Regions from separate parts of the Homo sapiens genome. Here all the other regions are linked to region 3. Evidence: promoter capture Hi-C in human tissues and cell types (Jung and others, 2019). All regions are on one chromosome and are shown on one strand. The core of a region is centred on a gene start or on the middle of the fragment in contact, and the rest is flanking DNA. Distances in the headings are between cores, read along the strand shown. Region 1 has its middle 28 kb from the start of INSM2. Region 2 overlaps RALGAPA1 (Ral GTPase activating protein catalytic subunit alpha 1). Region 3 holds the start of SRP54 (signal recognition particle 54).

The links. Contacts are between HindIII fragments. The study calls those that stand out against the background at their distance.
Region 1: a contact is called between a fragment that was not itself captured here and the fragment with the promoter of SRP54 in region 3, in 1 of the 25 tissues and cell types used here (hippocampus).
Region 2: a contact is called between a fragment that was not itself captured here and the fragment with the promoter of SRP54 in region 3, in 1 of the 25 tissues and cell types used here (heart left ventricle).

Annotation. Positions count from the first base shown.
Region 1 is chr14:35,503,707-35,508,765 of GRCh38, reverse strand. No RefSeq gene overlaps it. Among named protein-coding and RNA genes, the nearest start is that of INSM2, 28 kb to the left of the region's middle. The HindIII fragment of the contact is 3,476 bases long and covers 1,502-4,977 here.
Region 2 is chr14:35,691,492-35,695,944 of GRCh38, reverse strand. The region is part of intron 17 of RALGAPA1 (Ral GTPase activating protein catalytic subunit alpha 1); the gene reads left to right. Among named protein-coding and RNA genes, the nearest start is that of SNORA101B, 69 kb to the left of the region's middle. The HindIII fragment of the contact is 3,370 bases long and covers 1,404-4,453 here.
Region 3 is chr14:34,980,517-34,985,015 of GRCh38, reverse strand. SRP54 (signal recognition particle 54) reads right to left here and starts at 2,024. Exons shown (of 16, transcript NM_003136.4): 1 at 1,801-2,024. SRP54-AS1 (SRP54 antisense RNA 1) reads left to right here and starts at 2,450. Exons shown (of 5, transcript NR_151701.1): 1 at 2,450-2,592. RefSeq lists enhancers at 1,554-1,813, 1,844-2,343, 2,524-2,613, 2,004-2,705, 2,824-2,873 and a silencer at 3,759-4,053. The HindIII fragment of the contact is 37,786 bases long and covers 1-4,499 here.

The DNA of each region.
Region 1 (5,059 bases), core at 1,990-4,489, 520 kb before region 3:
TTTCATAATTATAAATCATCCCTGCTATAAAGACATATAGTATTGAATTTTTTTTTTTTTTTGAGACAAGGTCTCACTCTGTCACCCATGCTAGGGTACAGTGGCATGATCATAGCTCACTATAGCCTCTAACTCCTGGGCTCAAGTGATCTTCCTGCATCAGCCTTCCAAGTAGCTAGGACTATAAGCGTGCACCACCATGCCAGGCTAATTTTTTCTATGTTTTATAGAGATGGGATCTCCCTCTGTTACCCAGGCTGGCCTGGAACTCCTGACCTGAAGTGATCCTTCCACCTCAGCCTCCCAAAGTGCTGGGATTACAGGAATGTGCCACCATGCCTGGCCTGTAGTGTTGAAATTTAAAAGTAAAATGCCTTTTATCCTTTCTTTACACAATTAGAGACAACATATATACTTGGAGAGAAAGAGAGAAAGTATTTGGGAGGCCAAGGCGGGTCGATCACCTGAGGTCAGGTGTTCGAGACCAGCCTGGCCAACATGGCAAAACCCTATCTCTACTAAAAATACAAAAATTAGCCAGGCATGGTAGTGGGCGCCTGTAATCCCAGCCACTCGGGAAGCTGAAGCATGAGAATCGCCTGAACCCAGGAGGCGGAGGTTGCAGTGAACTGAGATCCTGCTACTACACTCCAGCCTGGGCAACAGAGCAAGACTCCGTCTCAAAAAAAGAAAGAAAGAAAAGAAAGAGAAACATTCCCATTATAAAACATGCATGCAAATCATTAATCATAATATAAATTTATAATTGAACTTTGAAATTTCAAGTTTTACCTGAAATAACTTCTCTATTAGTAGTTTCTACTTCATTGGAGAATTTTTTTAAGTGATTATTACCTACTAGTTTATCCTGAGTAGGTAAAGCTACAGTAACTGAAAGAAGGCCTGTTTTAGGATCAGATCATCAGTCATATATGCCATGTTAATAAGATGATGCCAATTGGGTTTCTATGATGGGGCTTAAATAGGCAATATCAGCCTTGACCAGATTTGTTAGTCAATTTTTTCAGAAAAGAAAATCCTATAAAGGAAAATACTAGTCTTCTTGTTGGTCTTGGTGCTATAATCAGGCTTAAAAATACTAAGCTTTAAAAATATTTGAATGTACCTTCTTTTTCACAGTCATTCAGCAAAAATTCATCGGACACCTACTATGGAAATATAAAGACATATAAGTCACAATCCCTGCACTCATAAGAGAAAGAAAATAGCTAAGTGTATTACATGAAAAGTACCATAATAAAAGTCATTTAAAGTCCTATGACAGCATTAAGGTGGGAGTACTCCCCTCAGTTCCTCAAGCTTCACAGAGGAGTGAACATTTGTGCTATATCTTGAAAGATGAGTAGGAATAAGGTAGTCAAACTAAGAGAAAGGATTGGAGAGTAATAGGGTACCTCAAGCACCAGTAGGGCATGCTGTCATGGGGGTGCATTACTCTCCACTCCAGTTGTTTCCTTTCTTGTCAAGGGACATCCATTAGAGCAATGGTCCTGGACTCTTTCCATCCCTTCACTCATCATTTCTTCCCAGTTGTAGAGGAATTGCTTATTTTAACTAATGAGTTAGGGAGCAGGAACTTGGTATGCTTGACTCAGCCTCAGCCACTTCCTTCCTCCCTCCTCTGTCTGATAGACCTGGTCTGCTCTTGGCCTTACATAAGCTTAGAAATAATTGGTTGCTTATGAGAGATGAGGCCAGTAGTTATCCTGTTCTTCCTGAGACAGGATGGGTAAGTATGTCTAATTCTGGGCTTCAGAATTAAGAAGGCTTTTAGTTTCCATATATAAGCCACATTCTCCAATCTAGGCATTGTTGGTAATAATAGTGATATTTTGTTCTCAAACTGCCTCCTTCAGTTGGTTTAGAACTCAGGCAAGGAACTGGGATGCTATTTGTCGTCCACCCCCTCTTCTCCCCCAAAAAGAAAAACCCTCAAGTAATGTAGAGGCCTAGAGCCATGAAAATCGTGTATTCAGAGTGTTGAAGCATAAAGTGATTGAGAGGAAAGGTGAGAAATGAGACTGGAAAAGTGAGGCCGGATTGTGAAAGACACCAAGCCTTGACAGGAATTCGCTGAAACACTTTGTTACAATGTATAAAGATGGAGATGATATGTCGGAAACTGGCCAAATGCCCAAACAGAGCTTCATTAGATGCGATCCCTTGCTTCTCAGACAGTGACTTTCCAGCTTTATTAAAGTACATTAGAATCATTTGGAAGCCTTGGTAAAATGCAGATCTTGAGCCTCATCTTTAAAGATTCTGATTTAGTATAAGTACAATATGAGTCTCAGGAATCTGTATGTTTAACAAGCTCCCTAGATGATTCTCATGCCATAAATTTTAACTTTTCTTGGCGAAATACTGTTCGAGGGTCTGAGCTAAAACTTTATCATTCTAGAAATTCAGTTTTGTCAGAATAGTCAAAAATGTTCAGATTCATAATCAAGCCCCTGAGATACTTAAATATAAACTAGAGTGCTGACTGATTTAAGTTTAATGCTGACTGATTTAAGAATTAATTAATTAAGAATTTAAGTTTAATGCTGACCGATTTAAGAATTAATTAATTAAGAATTTAATGCTGACTGATTTAAGAACTATAGCTTTAAAAGGACTGGGGTCCTTGGGGCTGTAAAGAACACATCCTCTCTCTGTGGGAAAATCCATATGGGAAGCCACACTGTAACCAAAGATTGCTTGATCACTTTGGATTCATGGCAGTGAGAGTTAGTTGGATCACCATTACTAATGGCATCAAGCTTGTCTGATGTATCCATCTTCACTGTTGAGAATAGACTTGCAAAGGGGATTGGAAGCTGCTAAGGGGAGTGGAAGTTGCTTCCTCTGCCCAGGGCCATGCTGAAGACACACTGAGAAATTCCTGCTCTTGGCCTCTCCTTTTTCTAGTCTCCTTTTTTAACACATTTTTCAGGTAAGATTAAATATAATTGACAAGGTTAAAGATTTAGATATACTAATACAGACACATTTTCTTGAAAATATACTTGTTACCTTGAAAAGAGTTTAGATGCTCCTAGAACTCTACCATTCACAGAGTATTGGTTAGGACTAAATATTTCTATAAATGAATATAAGCTTCATGATGTCAGGGACCTTGACTTCTGGTTCACCACTTTATCCCAAGTGCTTAAAATAGTACCTGACATAAAAGAGTAGTCAATAAAATATATATTTTTGAATAGATGATTAGCCTCATCTATTACATTTTTATTCTTTTCATTTTAATTTTTATTCTCAGAGGCAAACCAATTCCAAAATCTGGGGCTACCTTGCCCCTGCCGCTTATGAATTAACCACACACCTCGACGAAATGCCTAAAGCAAAATCAGCTGCTTTAAAAAAAAAAAATTTGGTTTTTTGTTTCTCACTACTACACTAATGAGGATTAAATTTTTTGCCTTTGTTACACTTTTGTGATTGGGATGTAACATGTTGTCAGAATCTGTTTTCATTTTTACCATCAATCTCTGAGTTTATGTTTTGTGAGTTCCCAACTGGTTAAAAAGAATAGGAAGTCTCTGCTTGCTCAAGAATAAAAAAGAAGAGAAATGGAGATGACTAAATACCATTTCTTCTAGTATTTGTGATAGCCAGCTAAATCTAACGACTTTTTCCTTGACGTGTAAGTGAATATCACCAACCTTCTTCAGAAAAAAAATGTGAGGGGAAGTTCTTTAGCTTCTGAGCTTAAGAAATGTTGATAAATATTTGAAAATTCAACTAATTAAAAATGAAATGCAGCCAGCTAAGCTCCAGTCATTTTTAATTTACAATATTGCTTTGCTTTCGAGGCAATGTAGACAAGTCACAACTTCTTTTGATGCCTGAGGGATTGAAAAAATTAAATCAGCAGGATTGGCTATTGATGTTTTCTAGCAAATGTTTTGAAATCTCTGCCTTTCATCCATCTTGTAGGAAAATAGGATTGCTTTCTGAGCCTTCAAAGATATTAATTCCTTTAATAAATCCTTACTTATGTGTTGAAAACTTCCCACAGTTAGGTTTCTGTAGCAATCTCTACATCGGGGTAAATGTTGCCCGCAGGCAGACTCCCAATTTTTTTTCCAAGTATCATCACTCTTGGTCTGAAACTGGGGCTAACCAACATTACAACAGATTAAACATACCTTCTGTTCAGCCTCTTTTCATAAGATTTCTTTATTATATTCTTTGCAAGGCAAATTTCGTGACAGGCTGTTTGCCTTCCTGGTGATCAGCACTTAATGAGATAAAGCACAAACATAAGCAGTGACTGTCCCAGTTTTGTACTTTGATCCCTGCCTCTCTAACCAATGTGAAAAAAGATAGAGAGCTACCTGAGATTCTTAAAATGCAAAGAATATTTGTCATATAGTAAACCAATCAGAGCTTCATTCAATAACAAGAATAAAAATTGAATATAAGAAGTTAAAAACAAAGCATAGATGTGTGCATGCATGAAAGGTGGGCTTGAGGGGGAAAGGAAGTTGACCATATTGTGAAGATTTTGTGTAGAGCATCTATCTATTTCTCTAATACTTTTCACAACAACAATTGTAGAAAGATAGTAGAAATGAGAAGATAGTACCAAAACTATCAGATGACCCTCTTGAGGACAGCATTATTTCAGAGAGTTTCTTTTATTAAAAGGAGGAAGCATTTATGATGTTGGTTTAAATGTTGTTCTGAGACATTCTCCTTGAAATTCCTGCTTAAGGGATTTAATATTAATGTGCCTCTGCTTAAAAAAAAGTATAAAGTTTTCTCTTTTTTGTCCAAGCCTAAAAAGAAGAATGATAAATAGACTGGCTTTTGTGGGAAAGAAAGAAGCTCAATAATGACAAGTAAATGAGCTAACACCTTTTCCCTGGAGACTAAAGAGGGAGGGACTAGATAGCTTCTGACTATAGAAAGGGAGACGACAAAGGAAAAAAAAATTAGTGCAGTGAGCAGTATTAGGAACGTTTTGAGGGACAGTTTGAGAGCCTGCAACACAGCAGGGTATAGCGTTTCTTTTTCATGAAGAGTCTTTATC
Region 2 (4,453 bases), core at 1,839-4,338, 710 kb before region 3:
GTCTGGGCAAGTACACTCCTTGGCTTCTCTCTCATTGGCCTTTGATAATTACTTATCATTACTGCACTAGATTGTAGACATTTGGTAACCCAGCCTGACAGTCATTATTTTCCTGATAAACAGATAAGAGAGAAGCCAGAAATCTGAATCATCGTTCTTAAGCAAATTACTTTTACTGCCAAAAGTAACACTTTAGTGAAAAAAGGAATATAAAAGTATATAAACATGGTAGGCAGCTTTGTGTATACTTCCACAAATGTTTCTTATTTAGTATTTTCTAATCAAGTACTATGAGTTTCTCATCCTGAAATTAAGCTTACAGACCCAGTTTCTTTCAACCAGTTCCCAAAACTGATTTGTCATTTTTGTTGCTATTGGACTCTGGTCTATCTAGGCTATAGTATGTAGACTGCTAATGTTGGGGACTGATCTCTTTTTATTAACGATATGTTATTATTTGAATTGAGCTCTTTATACTTCTGTTTTGTGACTGTCAATGAAAAATAAAATAGTATGTCTCACAGGCCTATCCTTTTCCTAAATTCTGCCCAATAAGGAGAATTTTTCATCTCATCAAAGAAGTAGGCCCTTCTTTATACAATCAAGAATTTTTTCCTGTCATCAGTGTAGAATAGGATATTAATATTTTACATATTTTCCACTTGTAATCTGCTGATTATAGCATAATTCCAATTAGATTTTTTTTTTTTAAGAGATAGGGTCTCATTGTGTTGCCCAGGCTTGATTGCTGTGGTGCCATCCTAGCTTACTGCAGCCTGGAACTCCTGGGCTCCAGCATTCCTCCCACCTCAGCCTCCTGGCAAATTAATTTTTTTTTCCTGGAATAATTTACGTTAATTTTTTTGAGACACAGTCTTGCTGTGTCGCCCAGCCTAGAATGCAGCGGTGCAATCTTGGCTCACTGCAACCTCCACTTCCTGGGTTCAAGCAATTCTTGTGCCTCAGCCTCCCGAGTAGCTGGGACTACAGAAGTCCGCCACCATGCCTAGCTAATTTTTTTTTAATTTTTGGTAGAGATGGGGTTTCACCATGTTGGCCAGGCTGATCTCGAACTCTTGACCTCAGGTGGTCCACCCACCTGGGCCTCCCAAAGTGCTGGAATTATAAGTGTGAGCCATTGCGCCTGGCCTGCATTAATTTTTTAAAAAGAACATCTCAAGAAAAATGTGAAGCTAACTTAAACATGACATTATATAGCATAATCATAAGCAAAACACTATACTTTTCTTAACATAAAAAATGTATTGGTAGTTTATGTTCAAAATTTTAAAATCAGGAAAACAATATTAGAATAAAAGAGAAGATAGTCGACTGGGCTAAATTTTAGTGGTTTAAATGAAAACTATTGAGCTTGATTTGTTGCTTTTAAGTCTTTTCATATGATTACAATAATGTAAAAACTGCTTTGAATTACCTGCAAATTGAACATCTAATCTTAAAAAGATAGAATTTTAATAGCCTCTGTTAATAATATTTGAAACATAGATGCTCTATCGTTTTTACTTACCTTGAAGTACATTGCCGTTGTTGCCCAAATAGACAAAAACTTAGGTAATTAGCAGAAAAAAACTGAGTTTCAAAATGGCATCAATTTCTATGTAAACTAGTTTAAATGATATTATGAATTTAGGGACCATAAAAATATTACTGATAGCTAACGTTCGTGCTTGACCAGTAAAATAATTTAACTTTAGTAAAGGGGATTTTGGCCCTTGATTCTATGATTCATTTCAGAAATTATTAAAATTTCTAGTGATATGTTAGTATTTTAACTGAAGAGTTTGTGAGTAACTAACTTGCTTTTTACCAATAAGCAGCTACTTTTTTTTTTTAAGGCGAGCTTTTCTTCTACCAGTATTTATTAAGCCCATACTTATGTGACAGGTCCTCTTTCAATCAATAGAGATATTGCAATGAACAAAACAAAAATCCTCAAGAGACTTAAATCTAGTGGAAAGGAGTACTTTTTTCTTAACATTTTATAAGCTGACAGTATACTTTAATGTACAGCTTTCCTTTCAAACTAACACAGGAAACTTTTTGAACAAAATATTTCCGGGAAAAAACCGGTTTTTTAATCTAGAAATAATTGACCCATTTTAATGCTAAACAGTATTAAGGAAACCCAGAGATAAAACTTGACATTTCTGTAACTTTATAGAGTTTTTAAACTCTAAATTTAAATTTATTTTACCAAAGCATTTTCTCAATGTTCAAAAGCAGTTTGTGTAAATCTCTTGAAAACAACGTTTTTATTGTTTCACTCATTAAGTGGTTTCTAATGCTTTAGATTAACATTTAATTGAAAAGACTATACTTTCAAGCATAATTTCTAAGGTATGTTAGTAGAGGAGTTTCTCTGAACATGGGTGATCGTTCTTCTCTTCCTCTGGGAGAGTAAGAGGACACAGTTGGTTTCCCTTAAGAAAAAGAAAAGAAAGAGAAAAATATATAAAATTTTATTTAAAAGCTTTCATTTTTTAAGTTAAAATATAAGAAGCATAATTAAATTGTTTTGAGGGCATTTTTATTTAAACCTGATGCCACCATTATTTTTAGCAATTCAAAGTTTTTTTATTGGTTCCTTCTGTATAATTTACTAACATTTGTTTTAGTTAGATTTTTATTTCTAACATTCTTATCTTTATAGAGATAAATCACTATGCTGCTCTGTGGTTTTTTTAAAATTCTTTTTTGTTTATATTGAGATATAACTAAAGCCTGGCTTTATGGTTTTTTAATAATACAATTAATTTTTACCAAGTTTTATTTAAAAATTAATAAATTATTTCATGAGTACAAAACATATATGATGTATTATTCAAGAGATTAAGAGTAAAGATTAATTTCTGCCTTACTTGACACCACAACTCCTCACTTTGTAGTTGTGTAATTTTGGACAAGTCACTTAAAGAGTTTCTTCATTTATAAAATAGGCATAGCACCTACTTCATGGGGTTGTTGTGAGGATTAAATGAATGATATGTCAGATGCTTACAACAATACCTGGCATGTGGAAAATACTATATATAGTTTAGTTATTATTTAGTCTTTTTCTCAGTAAAGTTCAGCTGTATATATTTGCTCAACTAATGTAAGGCTTATTAGAGTCAATTATGCTCAATTCAAGTGCCATTTGTATTGACATAATTCAGCCCTCTTGATCTGAATTTAGCATAAAGTTGGTTTCCTGTCAGTGTTATTTTCTTCTTTGATTTTATGTAGTTAGTATTATTATGTGCCATGAAAGAACTATATTTAAATCTTAAGAATTTTTAAAAACATTGTTTAAATTTAAATTCTCCGGTACTACAATATTGGTAGAAAAAAACCAGTTACATTTTTTTTTTTTAAAGCTCTTTCCCTCTTAAGCTTGCACAGAAGTTTTAGATAGTCATATATGGTAACAAGTTTTAGGAAAAAAAAAAAACATAGGCTGAAATAATGGTTACGTTTTCTAATATACAAGGAGTGAGGGCTGAGTTTGGGAAGGAATTCCTAAACACAGAACATCATAATAATCTTTCCTGGCTTCTTTAGAATGGAAAAATTGTGAAATATCTATAAAAGAAATTAAAAATTAAAACTAATATTTTATTTTTTTCTGACATTTGTACATTTGCTAGTGTCATAATGTTTTTATGATTTTAATGTTTTGAAATCTTGATTTTGACCTTTGGTAAAATAAATTCCAAGCTATAAAATTCGTAAGAATTCTTATAGAACAGCTATACAGTCTTTATCCTTTGCTGAGTTCTTTAGAATATTGTGTGGAAAGAAATTTAGAGTGCATGCTGAATATAATCTCTGTCATTGAGGCAGAAGTTCTTATGATCTCTTATGGCAGATGTAAAAAACCGAAATATTTATGTTTGTCAAGATGCACAGATATGAGTTAGTTATCTGCTGTATTAACAAACGCTTAATGAGTATAAGTGCATCAAAGTGAAGTTTGTAAGGAAATGTTTCGCTTTTCACTTAGAAAAATTTCTCAGTGGAGTGCATGAGGAAGAAAAACAATGTCATTTTTTAAAGTTGCACATTCCCCTCAGTTTAAGGACAAAAAGTTAATTGTTTCAGCTTCAGGAGATACTATATATTTAACCTATGTTGAGAGCCTACTAGTATATCACTAGGAATATACTAGAATCTTGGCATAATACAAACCTATGTTGATCTCAATTTAGTATAAAGTAGGTCCATTTGGACCTCATACAAATAGGGTGATATGAATGAAATTGCAGAGGGACTAGCCTTTTTTCAGCCATAGTAGCATGGATCCCAAAAATACTTTGAATGACTATCTCCATTTTATAAATGAGGAAACTAGTCTCAAAATCTAGAGTAAGAATCAACAAATTATTTTGTAATCTTGGACAAGTCACTGCTTTGCTTCTGGATCTAAATTTTCTCATTTTGATTGTTCAGTTAT
Region 3 (4,499 bases), core at 775-3,274:
ATCACAAAATTCAACCAGAGGTCAAAACTCAAAAACGCACTGACAATCACTGCTTTTATACACTTTCGTATGCATGACATATGTCATAGTGAAAAAAAAAAAAAAAAGGAAGGTGAAGACAGTGCATTTGGTTTTGGACCTAATGAGTTTGCAAGTTTTAGGGGAAAGTACAGAACTATCAACTCATGAGATGGAGGCTAAAGAATAAGGTTTAGGCAGGGCATGGTGGCTCACACCTGTAATCCCAGCACTTTGGGAGGCCGAAGCAGGCGGATCACTTCAGGTCAGGAGTTCAAGACCAACCTGGCCAACATGGTGGAACCCCATCTCTACTAAAAACACAAAAATTAGCTGGGCGTGGTGGCAGGCACCTGTAATCCCAGCTACTCGGAAGGCTGAGGCAGGAGAATTGCTTGAACCTGGGAGGCGGAGGTTGCAGTGAGCCGAGATGGTGCCTCGGTACTCCAGTCTGGGCGACAGAGCAAATAAGGTTTGGAAAAGAACAAGGTTTGGAAATGAAAAGAATAAGGTTTGGACATGGTTGGCATATAGGGACAATGCCATGGAAGCAAGCGAGAAGCCTCGAGGAGAGCCTGTGGAAGACCATTTGGGTTATAGCAATGACTGAGGGCCAACTAAAAGGACGGCGTTAACCAAGACTGAAAATAACCAAAGAGATAGGAGCTTTTACTAATTCCCTTTCCCTTTCTCCATGGCACATAGGAGAAAATCAATTTTTAAAAAGCTACATTTATGGTTATCTTACTGTAATCCTGTGGCAGGTCCAGAATTTCCAAATAGATGGGGACAGAGGAGTAATCTGGAAGGAAGACTTGAAGATGCTTTTGCATAGTACTCTATATTAAGGTAGAAAATACCAGTTGGCCATATCAAAAAACTGAGAAAAAGCGATTTGAGGGAAATATTTCCCTCCCCTTTGGCACCACGATTGCTGTATTCTAGGCACTAAACCAAACCAAACCTCTTACCTAATCTCCTTTCTTCCTCAAAACAAGCCTATTAAGTAGATGAGGAAATTGAGGCTAGATTGGAATAGAAACTGGCTCAGGGTCACAAAGCACCTAAGGAGCACTTTAGCTCTCCCACAGCTTTCTACAGCTCTTTATATGCAACTAGTGTTTCTCATTACCCATCTTGATATAATGTGTATTTATGTGCGTTAGCTTCTCAATGGCAGAGTTAGTGTTATTCATTTCTGTATCCTTGTAGCCAAGAACAAGTATATATTTTGTTAAATTAAGCATGTGAAAGAATCAGGTGAGGATAGCATGAAGAAAGGCAGCAGGGGAAAGTTTCAAGAAATGGATGGTCAGCAGCGTCAAATGGTACAGAGAGAGCTATCAGTCTATCTTAAATCATCATTGGCATTCAACTGATATTCCATATTCGTTTATTGAACGTCTACTACACGCAGGACATTGTGTTAAGCACTACAAACACATAGGAAAAATAAAAGTCTCGTACAAGTAAAAGGATTTTCGGGGAAGTAGCTTCATCTAAATTCTTGCTCAGGAAAGCAAAACGAAGACTCAGGCCTGCAACTGCCTACATCTTATTTGGCTCAGGTAAATCGGAAGACAACTCAAAAGGGGCACAGCGCATCTTTAATAAAACTTCTCATGGAAGACGAGATAAAGAGCCACAGAAACTCAGTCTCGGTAACGATGGCCGGTGGCCACGGAGGCCGACTTCCCCCGGAGTCTCTCGCCTCCTGAGCAGCGCTGGGGCTGCCCCTCGCTCCCCCTCCGTAGTCTGGGGCGGGAAAAAGCAGACACTTACCGCAAAAGACACCGCTAAAGCCGTGGCCCTGAGGGGCCGGGAATTCCTTAGCGAGGCCCCACGCCGTCGGAAGAAACCCAAGAAAGCTGGGAGCAGACAGACAGGTATGACCCCACAACCCAACTTCCCGAACTAGATAAAGTAGGGTCCCAACGCCCAGCACCACGTCGTCAACTCCCACCAGCTGGAAGACCAACGGAGTGCCAGCGAACCTTCCGCCCAATGAGGAAACGTCACCACTCCGCGTAGTCCAGCCTTTCTATAGGAGAATCTACTTCCGCTTCCGGGGCACACCGCCGCGTTCCTTCTACGCGGCTCCTGAAACAGTTTAGATGTTTACTTGCTTACACTGGTTTTTGGTTTCAGTTTCCTACCGCTGAATAACTGCAGGAGTAAAGTTAGTGGTAAAATAGGAGGCTGTCTAGGGACGTGATTTCGGGGAAGAAGTCAGGCCTCGACGAGCCACCTTAAGAAAAGTGACTAGGCGGAGCACTCCCAGCTAAGAGCGGAAAGATGAGAGATAGAGGTGTGACTGAAGGCAGGGATCCCCAGGCGCACGTGAGACCTCCGTAGAGGGGCGGGGCTTAGGGCTTTGCAGACCGGAGGCTTGTTCCGCGGAGGGTGGGGCGGTCTCTGCTTGCGCATGCGCAATGCCAGCCAGTGCCTGCGCGGCTTGCTCCAGCAAGGTAAAATTTCCCACTGCGAGGCAGGCAGTGATGCTGCGGCCGCTTCGCACTGTGGCTCCTGCCGACCGCCAGGCGCTGTTACAGTGGATGCGAACTAACCGTAAGTGTAAGTGACCAGAGCTAGAGGCAGGTGGTGGGGGCAAGGATATGCTGCAGGCGCTGACTTTGAGGACTTAAGCGGGGTGAAGCCAACAGCCTTCCTTGGGATCGTTGTGCTGGTCTCTGCTGTCTTGGGGGGTAGATTGACCAGGGCTTTGAGTGCTCTAACGGAAAAGAGAGTTAGTTGCTCGCCACACGTAGACACCAATTAACAAGAGCGAGCCCTAGTATACAAGAAGAGGGATTTTATTTCTGAAGCCAGCCCGCTTCGTCTTTGGAGCAAAAAAGCGGGCATTTTATAAGGTACAAGAGGAAATGAGCAAGAGGTCTCTGCTAGCTGGTGCCTTATCTACCGGGTAGTTGAGTTGGTGCATTTCTGAGCAGAAATAAGTTGTAAAAGTGGCCAAGTGGGCATGCTTTCTGCTTACCCTTCTGAGGCGACCGCCTGGCGGTGGGAGTTGCGTCTTGGATCTCGTAGATGAATTTGCTCTGTAGAGAATGGTCTGGTGAGGGGAGTTGAGAGGTTATTTTGCAGTTCAAAAAGGGCTAAGTGGAAAGTGTAGTGGGGAGGGGAAAAGAGGGGAAAAAATAAACTATCTCTTGGAAAATGGGGGTAATCGGATACAGTACCACTTGGAATTAATTGGGTGTGGGAAACCTGGTTCTGAGTGGTTTGTGAGTTTTCAGCAGACTTCGGACAAGCCTTTAGAGCTCCTTGTGCCTAACCCTTTTTCTGAAAGAAAATAGAGGGTTAGCCCTCCTCCCCATTACTCCCACAAACTTGTTAGAATTGGTACGTTGCCACCTGAAAAAGCATTTTGCAGGAGAGGTTTTAGGCTGTAGCGTTAGTAGGAAGTGTTAAACGAAAAACCTTAGCCAAGTTAAATTTAACATTTTGAGCAAAGAATGATTCACGAATCGGGCAGGCTCAGAGAGATTGCAGCGCAGCCAAGTGTTGAAGATTTATAGACAGAAAAAGGCTGCAGTGAGCTTTGATCCCGCTGCTTCACTCCAGCCTGAGCGACGCAAGACCCTGTCTCTTTAAACACACACGTTAAAACTGAGGAAATGTGGTAGCTAGATCTAGTTACTGAAAAATGGGATAGATGTATTCTGGCAAAGTAAAGCCTGATGAAAGCTCAAGAAAATAGGATATTCTTATGTTTGTTAACTATAGCAAACTATCCTATGCCTGTATGCGAGAGTGTGTGTGTGTGTGTGTGTGTGTGTGTGTGTGTGTGTGTGTATGTGTGTGTATTTATTTTTTGAGACAGAGTTTCACTCTTGTTGCCCAGGCGGGGCTGCAGTGGCGCCATCCAGCTCACTGCAACCTCCACCTCCCTGATTCGAGCGATTTTGAGTGGCTGGGATTACAGGCGTCCGCCACCACGCCCGGCTCATTTTTGTATTTGTAGTAGAGACGGAGTTTCACCATGTTTCCCAGGCTGGTCCCAAACTGCTGACCTCAGGTGATCTTCCTGCCTGGGCCTCCCAGAGTGCTGGGATTGCAGGCGTGAGCCACCACGCCTGGCCACTATGCCTGTATTTTGCTGAATGGTGATTTCCATGGTTATTTTTATCCAAGCTCATGACTTGAAATGTCATTGTTAGCTGATGACTTACAATTTTAGATTTTTAACCTCGACCTCTTAAAATTCTTTGTGATGTTAGAGTCAGTAGGTTTAGATATTATAATTAACATTATTACACATTTTAGGAGTCATTTTAGATAAGATGTCAAACTGAAGATAACAGGAACATCTGCTAGTGAGATTTGACCTGGAAAGTATAGAAAACCAGATACACAGCTTTGTTTATTTATTTATTTATTGAGACGGATTCTCAGTCTGTCGCCAGGCTGGAGTGCAGTAGCACGATCTTAGCTCATTGCAACCTCTGCCTTCTGGATTCAAG